Regions from separate parts of the Homo sapiens genome. Here region 1 is linked to region 2. The links are contacts of gene promoters, found by promoter capture Hi-C in blood cells and fetal thymus (Javierre and others, 2016). All regions are on one chromosome and are shown on one strand. Each heading gives the region's core, a stretch centred on a gene start or on the middle of the fragment in contact. The rest is flanking DNA. Distances are from core to core; before and after follow the strand shown.

Evidence for each region. Contacts are between HindIII fragments. The CHiCAGO score rates a contact against its expected background, and 5 or more counts as called.
Region 1: a contact is called between the fragment with the promoter of KRT6B here and the fragment with the promoter of KRT2 in region 2, in 4 of 17 cell types (endothelial precursors, naive B cells, monocytes and 1 more). The highest score is 7.6, in endothelial precursors.

The regions. Positions count from the first base shown.
Region 1 is chr12:52,450,820-52,454,062 of GRCh38, forward strand. KRT6B (keratin 6B) reads right to left here and starts at 1,327. Exons shown (of 9, transcript NM_005555.4): 1 at 720-1,327. The coding sequence starts at 1,259. The HindIII fragment of the contact is 8,192 bases long and covers 1-2,310 here.
Region 2 is chr12:52,650,638-52,653,633 of GRCh38, forward strand. It overlaps KRT2 (keratin 2), which reads right to left and starts at 1,574. Exons shown (of 9, transcript NM_000423.3): 1 at 921-1,574. The coding sequence starts at 1,505. The HindIII fragment of the contact is 4,749 bases long and covers 1-2,996 here.

The DNA.
Region 1 (3,243 bases), core at 77-2,576, 200 kb before region 2:
ACCACTGAGGTGTTCTCGCACTGTAAGCTATTGATCATCAGTGAGTTTCAACATTTCTTCTTTTCTTTTTCCAAGCACAATCACAAATCTAGTTTAAAAATACTAATTACCTGATATATTGTACACAGTTTTTTTTACCGAGAGGATCTTAGTTAGGAGGGATATTAGATGTTGACTCATGATTACATTTCAGTCTACTTTCCCATTTAGTGTCTCCTCTCAAATATTCTGATGTTATGGTCATTCTCTGTTTTTAAAATTAATTAGCATTTATCCATGTTTTACAGTTGTTTCTATGTCCCTTTTTTTCTTAATCCAGCCAGATTATCTTTTCCTTTTCTTTCTAAATCTTTTTCCTCTTACCCAGACCCCAGAGTGTAATTTACCAGCCCATATACTCCTGGCATTTGCTTTGTAATCTCTTAAACACTTCAGAGGGGAGAATTAACCTACTCCACTCTCTGATGGCCTCATCTGTGCTTCAGGGTTATGAAAAGTTATGGCTCTCCCTAGGCAGGAGTGAGGGCCACTCCAGATATCCCATGGGGGAGTGATGCCCATCTGTGCTGCCTCCTGTGCACCGAGAGCCACCTGCACTCTCTGCAGAGCTGGGCTGAGTCCCCTTCTCCCTCCCTCCTAGGGTCTCTCCGGCAGGAAGGTGTTGCTCTTCTGGTCTGGGGACCCTGAAGTGCCCGATGGAGGGCATGGCACTGGCTCACCTTGTCGATGAAGGAGGCAAACTTGTTGTTGAGGGTCTTGATCTGCTCACGCTCCTCGGCCCGCACCCGCTGGATGGCGGGGTCAATTTGCAGGTTGAGGGGAGTCAGGAGACTCTGGTTGACAGTGACCTCTTGGATGCCTCCAGGGGGGCACACAGGGAAGCCAGGGCCCCCAAAGCCACCAGCAAGGCCGGCTCCACCACCCAGACCAAAGCCAATGCCGGCTCCACCACCGAAACCAAATCCACTCCCGGCGCCACCAAAGCCATAGCTGCCTCCGGCTCTGCTGCCATAGCCGCCACTGATGGCACAGCTGCCCCCTCCAATGGAGATCCTCTTGGAGCCCCCCAGGCCATACAGACTGCGGCTGCCAAAGCCAGCTCCTCCACATGCGCCACCCAGGCCACCACTGCCCCTGGAGCGGGACACGGAGATGCTGCTGAAGCCAGAGCGGCTGACCCCAGGGAGCCTGGCTGAGTTGGCACTGAAACCCCGGCGGCTGCTGCTGTGGCTCCTGATGGTGGTGGATGTGCTGGCCATGGTTCCAGGAGATGAGAGGGCTTAGGAGAGTGTGAGAGGCTGGAGGCGAGAGGGAGGAGAAGCAGGACGAGGAATCGGACTCCAGTAGCAGCTTATATATGGAGAGCATGGGCTGGGCCCAGTCCTGGAAGGTGAGCTTGCAGGTTGGGAAGGGCTGGGCTTTACAAATAGTGAGATCACACCTGCATTATTACAAAAGTTATGAAATACCGAGATTGCATTTTTCGCTTCCTTTAGTCAGGCAAAATGTTCCTGCCTCCAGCTTTGACTTGAGATCTCAGCACAATAAGAGTATTCTCAATTCATGAAGTTGGAATTAGTCACTGTCTTCAGCAAAGGTTCTGCATGCTAGGCTGTTTATCGACATGCCCTGAGTGCCCTCCTCTTCCCAGTCTGACTTTCTTCCAGCCTTGCTGTTGGAGATCACAGGCACTGTATTGTGAATTCCTTAACAGAAATATTACAATTTCCCCATAATTGTTTCACCTTTTAGGTGCAATTTTAAACAGGTAGAGAAGCAGAACACTGCAATGGGCCTGTATATACCTGTCACCTGCTTCCATGATGATCATCTCATGGCCAGCCTGATTTCTTTCATACTTCAACCCTATTTCCTCTTCCATTCTAGATTGTTTGAAAGGAAATTCCAGAAGTCATATTATGTCTTCAATCAATAATTCAATATTAATATCTAAATAATAGGTCCTTTAAAAAATCAAAACACTATTTTTATATCTTAAAAATTTACATACTAATTAAAATGAACAAGTGTCTATTTAGTCTTCAAGCAGTCCTATTTTTGATATATATTTCTTATATTTTGGTGTCCCAATCAGAGTCAAAATAAGCTCTATAAACGTTGTATTTGAGTGATATATCCTTTAAATCATTGAAATTTAAAAATCTCCCTTCATTTCTTACTTTTATTTGTTAAATAAAACAGGTTAACTGTTCATTGTACTTTTTCATTCTTGGGATTTTTCTAATTGCATACCCCTATTGTTTCCTTTAATATGAGACTCTAACCTTCATATTTCATATTAAAATTAGAAGCTTATTAAGATTCTGTCTATATTTAAACATTCTAGAAGTAAATGTAGTAGATTGCCCATTTAAATTTTGAATAGTACTATTTGCACAATTATTTACATGTTTACAAATTGAATACATGATACATGTTTTAAAAAATTTTTTGTAAAACATGCTAAACAACAAAATAATATAGCTCAAGGCCATTCCCCAGTTACCCAATTCCTATCTATGGAGGAAGTAATGTTAGCAGTTCCTTGTGTATCCTTGTATCTTTACTTGGATATTTTCCTGTGCTTTTCCTGGGCCATGGGTGACATGTCTGTGCATATGTGTTTGTGTCAACGTGTGTTTGTATGGGTGAGGAAGAGGTGGAGGGAGTTGGCATATATAGAGAGGGAGCCTGCATTGTAGAAAGGTATATAAATAAATACATGAATGTTTTGTGTGTATGTGTTTGAGTGTGTTTTATGTATATAAAATATTTCATGTATTCATATGTACAAAACATAAAAATATTGTCTTTTTCAATTGTGATTGTGTTGTGTCTGCTTTGTCTCCCACATCTATGTTTTCTGATTCTCTTTTTAACAGTCTCTAGTCTCTTTTTCATAGCTGTTTGCTTTTCCCAGTTATTCGAGGACATTTCTCCCAAATGTCCATTACTGTCTGTTTACCAATGTCTTTCCTCCTTATGCCGCTTTCAATTTGGGCTTCATTTCTTTTTTCTTTTCTTTTTTTTTTTTACACAGAGTCTTGCTCTGTCACCCAGGCTGGAGTGCAATGGCATGATCTCGGCTCACTGCAACCTCCGCCTCCCAGGTTCAAGTGATTCTCATGCCTCAGCCTCCCAAGTAGCTGGGACTACAGGTACCTGCCACCATGCCCGGCTAATTTTTGTATTTTTAGGAGAGATGGGGTTTTAGCATGTTGGCCGGGCTGATCTTGAACTCCT
Region 2 (2,996 bases), core at 324-2,823:
CTGCTTCAGGACCTCGAGAAGTGTCTGAGGCTGGATGCCGAGTCATGACTGGCAGAGCTTCTGAGCTCCCTGCTTTCGCCCCTGGAAAGTCCCACAGACTCCTAATGCTACATCCGGCTCTCTCCACGCAGAGGAGACTCTTTGCTGCTTCACTGCTCACTGGTTTGTTTGCAGCTGCTCCCAATACTCTAGACCATTTCCCTCCCCGCATCCTGGTTGAATTTCCAGCCAAGATCCCATAAATTCTGGGGAAAACCGAAAGCAGCCATCTGCTGGCACTGCTCGCAAGGGTGCTGAGTATGAGAGTCCCAGAGGGCAGGGCTCCTCAGCCTGATTTTTAAGAGCCTTGTAAATCCCTGCCTATTTCAAGGCAGATAAACCAAGACAGGTTCGTCTGCCTTGAAATAGGAGAAAAGCCAGTAACACTCCGAAGTGACACCAATAAAGACTTTATGGATCACAAAACTGAGAACGCTTCTCTTGAAGGCAGGAATTTCCTGCATTCCCAAGCAGATATTTCAGGTTCAGCTTCCCAGAGTTTAGTAATCACTGCTAAGGAAGGAAACACTATCTCAGAAGACGATGGCTTCCAAAACCTGCTGCTCCAGTGGCCTGTCCCAAGGATCAGTTCAATACTTGCCTATATCCATTTTTTATGGTTTTCAGAATTTTCCATAAATATTATTTATATGGACTGTAACAATAAGGTCAAAGGGACAAATGCTTCCTAAGTGCAGGCTGTTATGGGAAATGTAACCCACAAAGCTGGCGTCTTTTCCATCTGGAAACCGCAAATGACCCAGGCTACTGCGGTACACCACTGGCTCCTAAGAAATACAAATCTGTGCCATTTTCTTTTTGGTTGGCTCTGGAAGTGAAGTGGCCTGAGCATCAGTGGGAGCCGTCTTCTCCAGAGTCACCTTGTCAATGAAGGAGGCAAATTTGTTGTTGAGAGTTTTGATCTGCTCACGCTCTTGGGCCTTCACATTCTGGATCTCTGGGTCAACTTTCACGTTGAGAGGCTGCAGGAGGCTCTGGTTGACAGAGACTTCGTGGATGCCACCAGGGTATCCTCCAGGCCCAAAGCCACCAGGACCCCCTAAACCTCCAACACCACCAGGGCCCCCAAAACCTCCAAAGCGGCCTCCACCAAAGCCGCCTCCACCGAAACCACCACCACTGAAGCCGCTGCCACCTCCAAAGCTGCTGCCGCCTCCAAAACCACCTCCTCTGCCACCAAATCCACCAGCGGCGCCAAAGCCACCACCTCCTCCAGCCACACTAATGGAGATGCTCTTGGTCCCTCCAAGGCCAACAAGACTCCGACTGCCAAAGCCGCCTCCACCGAAGCCCCCGCCACCACCACCATGGCGGCTCAAGCAGGAGAAGCTGGAAGTTGATCTCCGGCTTCCACCAGACACCACAGCTGAGCCGCTGCTGAAGCCCCGGAATCCTCCTCCACCTCCTCCTCTTCCTCGAGATTTGCAAGAGATCTGACAACTCATGATGCCTTTGTCCAGGGAGGAAAGTCACAGGCTCTTGAGAAGAGTCAAGGCTGGAGACTCAACTGTGCTGCTGGGAGGCTTTCAGGGTCCCCTTATATACCTGCCAACTAGGTGTTGTGTACATGGGTGTGGATCCACTTATACGTGGGTTTGGTCTGCCTGGGAGCTATTCCTGGTGCGTGATTATCAAGCTAATAGCCATTAAAAATCTACTAATCAGCTCCATCCCAGAACTTGCTTTGATTGCAAACTTCTGTTTATCTGGGCATCTGTCATGCAATTTGATTTTTGTAAAATCATCAAAAGAGGAGATCAGGGTTTGGGTTTCTCAATCTGGAAAAGGACCTTCTGCAGAATGCTGCTCCCTGTTCTGGACCTGCCCAAGGGAAGTCAGCTACCACCCATGCTTGTGCAGGCTCACCACCCCAGTTCAACAATGAAAGGGATGGTGGGTTTAGAGACTGCAAGAGCCCCTCAATGCCAGCCTTGTAGTTCTCTTGTAGTTTCCCTCTTTCCCAGAAAGAGCCCCAACTAGTGCAGGGGAGACTGCAAAGGTCTTAAATGACCTTAAATGCTAATTGGAAATCGACCTCCTCTTACAGAAAGTAATTGGCCTCGGATACTGCAAAAGAGGTGTCGATTTTCAAAATATCTTGGCTCTTTTCTTCCCATGCCACACCAAAAATACACAATAACTAGGCACCGAATAGAGATTTTTTATAACCATGATGGTTTGTATAACCATCAACTGTCCCTTGTCTACATGAACACCCAGAGGTTGAGAGGTATGAGAAAAGTTTCGCTGTTTCTGGACCTGTGTGATGCGGGACACCAAGTGAAAGTTTGCAAACCAAGATCCAAGTGTATATTGATTCAGTCAGTCAGTAATCACGTATTGCCTGGTGATCCTGGGAAGTGATTAGGAAGTCAGGCTCTTCAATGACATCCACAGATGCTTGAGGATAAGAAGACCATCCAGCCTGCACAGAGCACTCACACTTAAACTCAACCACTTCCTCTGTCCATGTGGCCAACTATGTGGGAGAGGTTCTTGGAGTAATAAAACTGAATTTAGTCAGAAATTCTGGGTTTGAGTCCCAGTTTTGCTATTTATTGGCTGTGAGGCCTTGAATGAAACCCTGAGGCTCTGTGGTCCCAGCTATAAAATGGGAAATTCGTATGAAGTGTTTTGAAAACCACCGTGCACAATAAAATGTCAGTATCATTATTGTTTGGGGTGAGACAAAGATAATTCCTTTTCCTTTCCCCCTTGCCATGTTACTGTCTTCTGGCTACTATGAACATGCACTCTCCACAGGCATCATAAATTACAGAACCAGGTGGTTCAGATCCTAGTACCAAGTTATCACAAAATAATGTAAAAAACATAAGTTTGAGGTCAAATCCCAATTTTCTTGTATCTTAGTTAAATGACCTCAGATAATCCATAATCCTCTTCAAGCCTCAGTTTCCTCATCTATAAAAAGTGAA